Regions from separate parts of the Homo sapiens genome. Here regions 2 and 3 are each linked to region 1. Evidence: promoter capture Hi-C in human tissues and cell types (Jung and others, 2019). All regions are on one chromosome and are shown on one strand. Each heading gives the region's core, a stretch centred on a gene start or on the middle of the fragment in contact. The rest is flanking DNA. Distances are from core to core; before and after follow the strand shown. Region 1 overlaps PEMT (phosphatidylethanolamine N-methyltransferase). Region 2 holds the start of TNFRSF13B (TNF receptor superfamily member 13B). Region 3 holds the start of ALKBH5 (alkB homolog 5, RNA demethylase).

Region 1 (3,374 bases), core at 270-2,769:
CATCTCAAAAACAAACAACAACAACAAAAAGAAGTGAGGTGAGGTATGAAGCAAAAGCTGACAGAACTAAAGGGTGGAAAAGACAAATCCACAGTTCTTGTTAGGGCCCTCCATGGTCCTCTCAGTGACTGAGAGAATCAAAGCAGTGGACAAGAAGGCTGCTGGAGCTGGCAAGGTCACCAAGTCTGCCCAGAAAGCTCAGAAGGCTAAATGAATATTATCCCTAATACCTGCCACCCCGCTCTTAATCAGTGGTGAAGAACGTCTCAGAACTGTTTGTTTCAATTGACCATTTAAATTTAGTAGTAAAAGACTGGTTAATGATAACAATGCATCATAAAACCTTTAGAAGGAAAGGAAAATGTTTTGTGGACCACTTTGGTTTTCTTTTTTGCCTGTGGCAGTTTTAAGTTATTAGTTTTTAAAATCAGTACTTTTGAATGGAAACAACTTGACCAAAAATTTGTCGGGCCGGGCGCGGTGAGTCATGCCTGTAATCCCAGCACTTTGAGAGGCTGAGGCGGGCGTATCATGAAGTCAGGAGATCGAGATCATCCTGGCTAACACGGTGAAACCCCGTCTCTACTAAAAAATTAAAAAAATTAGCTGGGCGTGGTGGCAGGCGCCTGTAGTCCCAGCTACTCGGGAGGCTGAAGCAGGAGAATGGCGTGAACCCGGGAGGTGGAGCTTGCAGTGACCCAAGATGGCGCCACTGCACTTCAGCCTGGGCGACAGAGCGAGACTCCGTCTCAAAAAAAAAAAAAAAATTGTCACAGATTTTTGAGACCCATTAAAAAAAATCTAATGAGAAAGAAAGAAAGAAAAAGAAAGAGAAAAAGAAAGAAAGAAAAAGAAAAAGAAGGAAGGAAAGAAAGAAAGAAAGAAAAAGAAAGAAAGAAAGAAAGAAAGAAAGAAAGAAAGAAAGAAAGAAAGAAAGAAAGAAAGAAAGAAAGAAAGAAAAAAAAAAACGCAGGTGGAAAATCGGGAGGACGCAGCTGACCTGAGCAGCGCCATCCAGTGGCTGGACCTGACCACAGCACATGGCAGCCTTGGGAACAGCCTGCAGTCTCTGGTGTCACCAAAACAGATCACACTTGGGGCCACCAAACAAACCTTAAATTTAAACGAATAGAAAGCATACACAGTATGCTCCCAAACCACCACAGAATTAAACTCGAAATCAGTCACAGAAAGCGATCGTGGAAAGAATGCACGCGAGGGCCAAATGGGAAGTCTTGGGAAATCTAGAAACATTTTGAACTGAATGAAAATGAGAATAGAACACATGAAACCCTGTGGGATGCGGCTAAGGCAGGGCTTCTATTAGTAAGGAAGAAAAGTCCCAGGTCAGGAATATAAGCTTTGCCCTTAAGAAATTACAGAAAGAGTGGCTGGGCGCAGTGGCTCATGCCTATAATCCCAGTACTTTGGGAGGCTGAAGCAGGCAGATTACTTGAGGTCAGGAGTTCAAGACCAGCCCGGCCAACATGGTGAAACCCCATCTCTACTAAATATACAAAAATTAACCAGGCGTGGTGGAGGGCGCCTGTAATCCTAGCTACTTGGGAGGCTGAGGCAGGAGAATTGCTTGAACCCGGGAGACGGAGGTTGCAGTGAGCCGAGATTGCACCACTGCATTCCAGCCTGGGCAACAGAGGAAGACTCCGTCTCAAAAAAAGAAAGAAAGAAATTAGAGAAAGAGGAATGAGTTAAACCCAAAGGAGGCAGGACAAAAAATTAAAGATAAGCAAAAATCAATCAAATTGAAAACAGGAAAACAATAGAGAAAAAAAAATTACACCCAAAGCTGGTTCTTTGGGGAAAATTTATTTTCCCAATAAAACTGAGAAACCTCCAGCCAGCCTGACCAAGAAAAAAAGAGAAAAGACACAAAATATCAATATCAGAAATAAAAGGGGGGACTTCTCTACTGACCTCACAAACATTAAAGTAATAATAAGGGAATACTATGAATAACACAAATTAAGTAACTTAGATGAAATGAACCGATCCTTGCAAGACACAACTGTCAAAATTCATTCAAGAAATAATCCTTTATCTTTTAAAGGATTTGAATTTATGGCTTAAAAACCTAAAAAAAGAAAGCCTTGAGCCCAGATGGTTTCCTGGATGAATTCTGCCTAACATTTAAGGAAAAAATAATTCCAATTCCACACAATCTCTTCCAGAATATGGAAGAGGGAGGCAATACTTCCCAACTCACTGTATTACCCTAACACTAAAACCAGGCCGGGTGCAGTGGCTCACCGCCTGTAATCCCAGCATTTTGGGAGGCCAAGGTGGGTGGATCACTTAAGGTCAGGAGTTTGAGACCAGCCTGGCCAACAACCCTGTCGCTACTAAAAATACAAAAAACAAAACAAAACAAAACAAAAACCAGGTGTGGTGGTAGGTGCACCTGTAATCCCAGCTACTCGGGAGCCTGAGGTGGGGGAATTGCTTGAACTCGGGAGGCGGAGGTTGCAATGAGCTGGTATCACGCCACTGCATTCCTGAGTACATGCCTGAGCAACAGAGCGAGACTCTGTCTTAAAATAAATAAATTAATTAAATCAAATGAAACCAGATAAAGAAAGAAGATCCCCCCAAAAATTAGAGCAAATCAAATCCAGCAATATATACAAAGGATAATATGTTAGGACCAGCCAGAGATCACCCCAGGAATCCAGAGCTAGTTCAACATTCAAAACATCAATGGAATTCATATTTACAGCTTAATGAGGAAAAACAGTGTCATCTCAACAGAGGCAGGGGAAACAAGCTCCAAGAGTTTCTGTCATTGTTTTGATGAGCAGCCACGGAAAGCCTCAACCCTGCTCTGTCTTGGCTGATGCCAAAATTACTGAAGACAAAATGTACGGCCTTGAAAACACCACAGAGTAACTCATCTAATATAACGGCCTAATGTTTATTTCAACTAAAGTAATACAATCAAAAGATTTTTGGAAACGATTTTGGATAAAGGCAAACATTTTTCCCTGAAAGGCAGTCAAGATACCCCGCATCGGCCATCGGAGCTTTGCCTCCAGGGTCTTACTCGGGTGCCCATATTACACACAGGGACCTGTGTCCCCTGCCCCAGGTCTCTCAGCCTTCTGAATACAAGGGCTTTGCCTTCTTGAGGACCACCCTTAGGTGGGCTGCACTCGATACTTCATAAAGCTTTACACCCCTCATCTCATTCTGGTCTTCACCATAACCCCCTCACTGTCCCCATTCTTCTTGACACCAACACCAAGCTGGAGACATCATCACTCACCCGCTCTGGTGAGCAGGTGATTCGCTATGGAAAAGGGACCTGAGACCTGGGCATGTGCCCTTGCTCTGAGGACCTCAGTGTGCTCTGCCAGCCT
Region 2 (3,374 bases), core at 480-2,979, 610 kb before region 1:
GCCCTCTGCTTGTGCCTCCTCACGGGCTTGGCCGGTTAACAGGTGCTGCACCAAGAAAGAGCTCTGTGGTCGGATTAGTTTGAAAAACACTGGGTTAAAGAAAGTCAAGGCAGTTTTTTAACCGCAGGGCTTCTCAGAGCCTTTCCTCATGACTCCCCAAGAGGGGGTCTGGTAGTTTCATCAAAGCACTTTTGTGTGTTTGAGGGATGTCTGGTAGGAAAGACAGTCTTCTTCATTTTACACTGAGGGGAAGCGGCTCAGCCAAGGTCCCAGAGTGGGCCAGTGGACAACCGGCCAGGGCTGATTCGGCAGCACCAGACAGCTTCTGCCACTGCCAGGTCACAGTTCTAGCTGGGTCCTGACTCGTGGCCCCAGAGCACTGGGCAATTTCATCCTGTGTTAAGGCAGCCTCTGGTCACTGCCTTGTCCAAGTCTCTCAGAAACTTTACATATTTGAGCCCCTGGCTGTGTAGATTCTGGGGACTTGGTGGCTGGACACAAAAAAGGACTGAAGAACAAATTTGCTCCCTGCCTGAGGTGTGGGACAGAGCAGCAGGCAGAGGCTGTGAATCTAGGCTGTGCCCCGGGTCCATCTGGCCATGGGTTCTGTCTGCACTAAAGGACCTGGGGCCCTTTCATAAAACCTTAGAAACCCACCCTGATGAAAATGCTATACGGGCCGGGTGCCGTGGCTCATGCCTGTAATCCCAATACTTTGGGAGGCTGAGGCAGGTGGATCACCTGAGGTCAGGAGTTTGAGATCAGCCTGGCCAACGTGGCGAAAGCCTATCTCTACTAAAAATACAAAAAATTAGCCGGGCGTGGTGGTGGGCACCTATAATCTCAGCCACTCGGGAGGCTGAGGCAGGAGAATGGCTTGAACCCGGGAGGCGGAGGTTGCAGAAAGCCGAGATCATGCCATTGCACTCCAACCTGGGTGACAGAGCAAGACTCTGTCTCAAAAAACAAAAACAAAAACAAAACAACAAAACAAAAAAAAAGAAAGCTATAGGATAAATATAAATATAAATATATAACAGAAAAAATGGGTGGAAACTGTTATAGATTAAAACATAGCCAAAAGTCTAATGTGGGACAGGCTGATTTGAACAAGTCAACTGAGAAAGACATTGGTGAGACAGTTGGTACAGTTTGAACCCTGGCGGGCTATGTGATGATGTTCAGGAATTGTTGTTTCAGCAGGGGTGAAGGTATGATGCTTAGTTTTTTGTTTTGTTTTTAGGGTTTGTGTTCTTAAGGAATAAATCCTGTGGTCTCCACAACTCAAACAATCTGGTATTTGAGATTAGCATTAAAATGGTCCAGCGGGCATGTAAGGGGGAAAATGGGGGCTGTGCAGGGGCCATGGTGACAAAGGGAATTCCTGCCGGTGTGGCCAACCCTGCAACCTCAGTGGCTTCTGTCACGGAAGGCAAGCCCCACATCCCAGAGGCATCCAGACTCGGGGCTCTCCATGTGCAGGAGCTTGGGGAGGCTGGGACTGCCCCAGTGTGTGGATCTGCTGTGGGCTTTGCACCTGCTGGACCTTGCAACCCCCACGGCACTCAGGCCCAACCCTCCTCACACCTCCCACCTGCCCTCCTGCCCTCCTGCCCGGCTACTCACAGCGCTCCTCCTGGTCCACACGGCTCCGGCCACCTCGCCTGCTCCGGCCCAGGCCACTCATTACTCAGGATGCTTATTACTAGTCTTAGATTTGATTAGTGCTTGGGCTGCACTTCCTGGGTTTTCCCCTCAACCTGTTGGATGTAAATCAGCCACACCCACTCCCGCCCCCATGCCTGTGCATTGGGTCTCAGGAGCCCAGGTGGGTGGCTGCGGCCCAGGCTCCTGGCGTCCCATGGGGTACACACAGAGCAGTGGAAGGCCTGCCGGGCCTTGCGATGAGGTATTGACTATGGGATGGCCCAGGCTCTTCTAGATCTGGCCTTGGCCATCCCTTGGTCCTCATCTCCTGCCCGCCGGCACACACCCCAAGCCAGGCCAGCTCTCCACCCTCCCAGCATCACTCAGGCCTTTCCCTCTTCCTGGGTATACTTATTCTATTCATTGCCTGGTCGGCTCCTCCTGCTCTTCCTTCAAGGCTCCATTGAGGTGTCACCTCCTCCAGGAAGCCATCCCTGACTGTCCCAGCCTGTCAGGTGGTACTCATTCTCTGTATCTCCTTGACCCTCTCCAACACCTAGCAGAGCACTGGAGAGGCTGAACCCCAGGACCGGACAGCCTGCGTTTGAATCTTGACTCTGCTGCATACTAGCAGAAGGCCTTGGTGGCAATTTATGGAACTCTTCTGTGCCTCCATGTTCTCTGTGTAAAACAAGGATGAGGTCGGGCATGGTGGCTCACGCCTGTAATCCTAGCACTTTGGGAGGCCGAGGCAGGTGGATTGTCTGAGCTCAGGAGTTCGAGACCATCCTGGGCAACACGGTGAAACCCCATCTCTACTAAAAAAAAATACAAAAAATTAGCCGGGTGTGGTGGCGCGTGCCTGTAGTCCCATCTATTTGGGAGGCTGTGGCAGGAGAATGAACCTGGGAGTCAGAGGTTGTAGTGAGCCGAGATCGTGCCATTGCACTCCAGCCTGGGCAACAGAGATGCCATCTCAAAAAAAAAAAAAAAAAAAAGGATGAGAACATTGCCCGCCTCACAGGCGGTTATGAGCATGAAATGAGGGAGGGAGCACAGTTACATTCTTAGAGCAGGTTCTTGGCACACAGTAAGTCCTCAATAAAGGCCGTGGAGGAGGAACATTACAGCCCGTATTGCACTGCATGGCGACTGCACTCCTGTGTCTTCCCCATCGTCTGAAACCTCCCAGGGGATGGGAGGCCCAGCAACAGCCAAAGGCGGAGTGAGAGGAACGTAAAAGCCAAAGAAAGCCCATGGGCCCTTAGGAAGAAACTGAAGGACGAGGAGGACATGGAGAGGTGGAGAGGAAGGAGGGAGGCTGCAGGAAGCAGCTGGAGCAGGGTGATGGTGCACAGAGCAGGAGAGGAGATGCAGACGGTCAGCAAACACAGGAAAATGTCCAGTCTCCCAAAAATCAGAAAAACAACTGAACAATGAAAAACTAACTTTCAGCCATCAGGTTGCAAAGTTTTAAAGTTGGTAACATCAAGGGCAGGGGGGTGATCTACAGAAGCATGAACTCAGGGCCCACTGGAGGGAGGGAGCTGGCAGCAGCGTTCTGGAGAGTAACCAGCCAGGGTCAGTTAAATGCACAACACACACCTAACCCACCCCCCAGAAATTCTCCTCCTCCGTGAGCCTCCTCATGACAGCGAGAAACGGGAAACAATGTAAATGTCCATGCAGCAGAGGATGCCTGAATAAGCAGGGTGCACAGGCCAGAG
Region 3 (3,374 bases), core at 229-2,728, 600 kb after region 1:
GGTGAGACACAGTATGTTTGTAGACCTGGCTTACAGGATGAGGACCAGGCTGGGGCTCAGTGTACATGGAAAGAGAGGAGAGGAGGAGCCAAGGCCAGAAGAGTCTTGAAGAAAAGCTTTGAGTGCCAAATAAAGCAGGGGAACTTTATCCTGGGAGACATGGGAGATTTTCCAGCAGATCCCCCCCGACCCCCATTTGTTGGAGCCCTCCAGTGCATCCTGCACGGCTACGCCTTTTTGTTTTGTTTTGCAGCTCTGTCGCCCAGGCCGGAGTGCAGTGGCGCCAGCTCGGCTCTCTGCAGCCTCAATCCCCTGGGCTCAAGGGATCCTCCCACCTCAGCCTCCTGAGTAGCTAGGACCATAGGCGCGCGCCACCACGCCCAGTTCATTTTTAAAAATTTTATTGTAGAGATGGGGTTGCCATGTTGGCCAGGCTGGTCTCAAACTCCTGGGCTCAAGTGATCCGCCCGCCTTGGCCTCGCAAAGTGCTGGGATTACAGGCGTGAGGCCCCGCGCCCGGCAACGCCTTTGCTGACTGCTTCAAAACTTTTTTGAATTGACTGTAGTCATTATCTATAGCTTAGCCTTAGCCTTGCGCCCGTTCGTTTCCTGGAGTTTTCTTCCAGAGTCCCCGTAGGAGGTGCCCCCACGCCCATCTCCAGCACCAAGGAGGCTCGACGCCAACCCCAGCGCGCCCCCACGCTCGCCGTCACCGGGACGTGACTCGTGAAACGTCCGCTCCGGGCGGCGGCGGCAGCGGCGGCAGGCTGGCTTGTACCCCGACAACGCGCGTCTGGCTTCTGCCGGACGTTCCTATCTGGGTTCAGAACTGGGGCCGGGTGCTGCAGGTCCCGCAGTCTGAGAAGTTTTCGCGGGTTTCAGAAGTTTCCTTAGGCGTTCTAAGGGCTTTACTCAGGTGGAGTCTCCATTCAGGCACTTATTTAACCACCCATTTCTCCTTTAGGGGTCCTCGCTGCTCGCCCAGCCGCTAATTAAGTGACGGACACAGTAGCTAAGGAGACTGCCTGATTGACACGCATGATTACCAACCGACTTCCGGAAACTCCAGTCAGGGCCTGCCCGGCGCGTGGCCCACGGCCCAATTAAAGAAGTGGAAGCGCCAAAGGGGGAGGTAACGGAGCGGCCTACGTTGTGGCGGTTCCCTGGTGAATGCGCCCTGGGGTTGAGGCGTCTGCGGGCGTTCGGACGATGCCGTGACGCGGCACGGCGACACTGTTGGCAATATGAGCGCACCCCTGTAGAGGGAGCCCTTCGGTCCTGGAGGCGGCGCGGCGTGAAGACAGGTTGCTATTTGAGAGCGTTCCCTTGAAGCCCCTCAGAGAGTGGGGGAGGGGCGGCGGACGGCAAGCGGTTCCTGTCTGCGCTTGCGCCGGCGCCTCTGCCGACCCGGCCTGCACGCACGCGCATGCCCGTAGCGCGCGGAGCCGCGGTGGCCGGCAGCACTGCGCGTGCGCGGTGAGGAGCCCGCTAAGGAGCGGCGCTGGCGGACGTCGGGCTGGCTGCCCGTGACGTCGTGCGGAGAGCTTTAAAGTGCGGGCCGGGCCGGGCGTCCGAGGGTCTGGTCGGGAGTCGGGCCGCGTCTCCGCAGCAGCCCTCCGCGGCATGAGGCGCTGCCGGCGCCCCTGCCCCGCGGGACGTGGAGAAGGTGGAGGAGGAAGAAGCCCCGTTGTCGCCACCGTTGCATGACCCGCCGCTCCTGAGGCCCTACCCCACGCCCGGACCCTCGACGCCCCCCGCCGGGTCCCCCACTCACGCATGGGGGTTCGGCGCTAAGGACCCCCCTCCCTCCGGGGGCCCCGGGGCGCGTCCCCTTAGAGCCATGCCCGGCTGCCCCGCCCGCCCCGGAGGACCCTAGAGCAGCGTCGTGGGGGCCATGGCGGCCGCCAGCGGCTACACGGACCTGCGTGAGAAGCTCAAGTCCATGACGTCCCGGGACAACTATAAGGCGGGCAGCCGGGAGGCCGCCGCCGCTGCCGCAGCCGCCGTAGCCGCCGCAGCCGCAGCCGCCGCTGCCGCCGAACCTTACCCTGTGTCCGGGGCCAAGCGCAAGTATCAGGAGGACTCGGACCCCGAGCGCAGCGACTATGAGGAGCAGCAGCTGCAGAAGGAGGAGGAGGCGCGCAAGGTGAAGAGCGGCATCCGCCAGATGCGCCTCTTCAGCCAGGACGAGTGCGCCAAGATCGAGGCCCGCATTGACGAGGTGGTGTCCCGCGCTGAGAAGGGCCTGTACAACGAGCACACGGTGGACCGGGCCCCACTGCGCAACAAGTACTTCTTCGGCGAAGGCTACACTTACGGCGCCCAGCTGCAGAAGCGCGGGCCCGGCCAGGAGCGCCTCTACCCGCCGGGCGACGTGGACGAGATCCCCGAGTGGGTGCACCAGCTGGTGATCCAAAAGCTGGTGGAGCACCGCGTCATCCCCGAGGGCTTCGTCAACAGCGCCGTCATCAACGACTACCAGCCCGGCGGCTGCATCGTGTCTCACGTGGACCCCATCCACATCTTCGAGCGCCCCATCGTGTCCGTGTCCTTCTTTAGCGACTCTGCGCTGTGCTTCGGCTGCAAGTTCCAGTTCAAGCCTATTCGGGTGTCGGAACCAGTGCTTTCCCTGCCGGTGCGCAGGGGAAGCGTGACTGTGCTCAGGTAACCCACCCGGGTGGAGGGGGCGGCCCTGCGCCTGCTGCCTTAGCTACCCACCCTGGCCCAGAAAGCAGCAGCCCGTAGGAGTCTGCGTTTTTTACAGTTCTGACCAGTTCTTCTGTTTGTAGATTGTAGGGAGCGAGAGAAGGGTTTTGTGTTTAAGATACCTATAGCAAGAAAATAGGGAACCGATGTGGAAATCCTGTCCCCGAAGGCAGGTTTGACGGGATCACTGACTTGGCTGAGAATTCATCGAAAGCCATCTTTTCAGAAGGCTGTTCCCTTTGATTTTTTTTTTTCCCACCATCCATTTCTTAGCATAAGTCCCTTTGTGATTTTCCGGTTTTCCATTCTGGCCTTCCATTTACAAATCTATGCTTTAAAATTTTTTTTTTTTTTAATTTATCTAAAAGTCTTTCTTGTTCTGCCATTTTTGGATTCCTTAACAGAGAAAGTAGTCACAGGCAAAGGCCCCAGAGATTATTTAATTGAAGCACATTCTCCATTCCCAGGAGGGGGAGTGACTTCCCTGGAGTTGAACAGATTAGTGGTTGGGCCAGGCATACAGAGCAGCACACTCTTAAAATTCTTCCCTCCTGGCTGCAGAAGAGCCCATCAGTTCTTTGTAAGAACGTGTTACTTGTAGTCAGGACTGAATACAACAGAATACAGCTGGTCTCTTGACTGTTTGGCCTTACAGTTGCGTGAGCAGC

What was found. Contacts are between HindIII fragments. The study calls those that stand out against the background at their distance.
Region 2: a contact is called between the fragment with the promoter of TNFRSF13B here and a fragment that was not itself captured in region 1, in 1 of the 25 tissues and cell types used here (spleen).
Region 3: a contact is called between the fragment with the promoter of ALKBH5 here and a fragment that was not itself captured in region 1, in 3 of the 25 tissues and cell types used here (dorsolateral prefrontal cortex, hippocampus and mesenchymal stem cells).

Annotation. Positions count from the first base shown.
Region 1 is chr17:17,585,332-17,588,705 of GRCh38, forward strand. The region is part of intron 1 of PEMT (phosphatidylethanolamine N-methyltransferase); the gene reads right to left. It also overlaps the pseudogene EEF1A1P43. Among named protein-coding and RNA genes, the nearest start is that of PEMT, 4.7 kb to the right of the region's middle. The HindIII fragment of the contact is 6,883 bases long and covers 1-3,374 here.
Region 2 is chr17:16,970,389-16,973,762 of GRCh38, forward strand. It overlaps TNFRSF13B (TNF receptor superfamily member 13B), which reads right to left and starts at 1,730. Exons shown (of 5, transcript NM_012452.3): 1 at 1,627-1,730. The coding sequence starts at 1,687. RefSeq lists an enhancer at 3,162-3,331. The HindIII fragment of the contact is 7,559 bases long and covers 1-3,374 here.
Region 3 is chr17:18,182,350-18,185,723 of GRCh38, forward strand. ALKBH5 (alkB homolog 5, RNA demethylase) reads left to right here and starts at 1,479. Exons shown (of 4, transcript NM_017758.4): 1 at 1,479-2,664. The coding sequence starts at 1,895. RefSeq lists enhancers at 867-1,066, 1,127-1,366, 1,474-2,311 and silencers at 1,577-1,876, 1,957-2,046, 2,205-2,356. The HindIII fragment of the contact is 6,004 bases long and covers 1-3,374 here.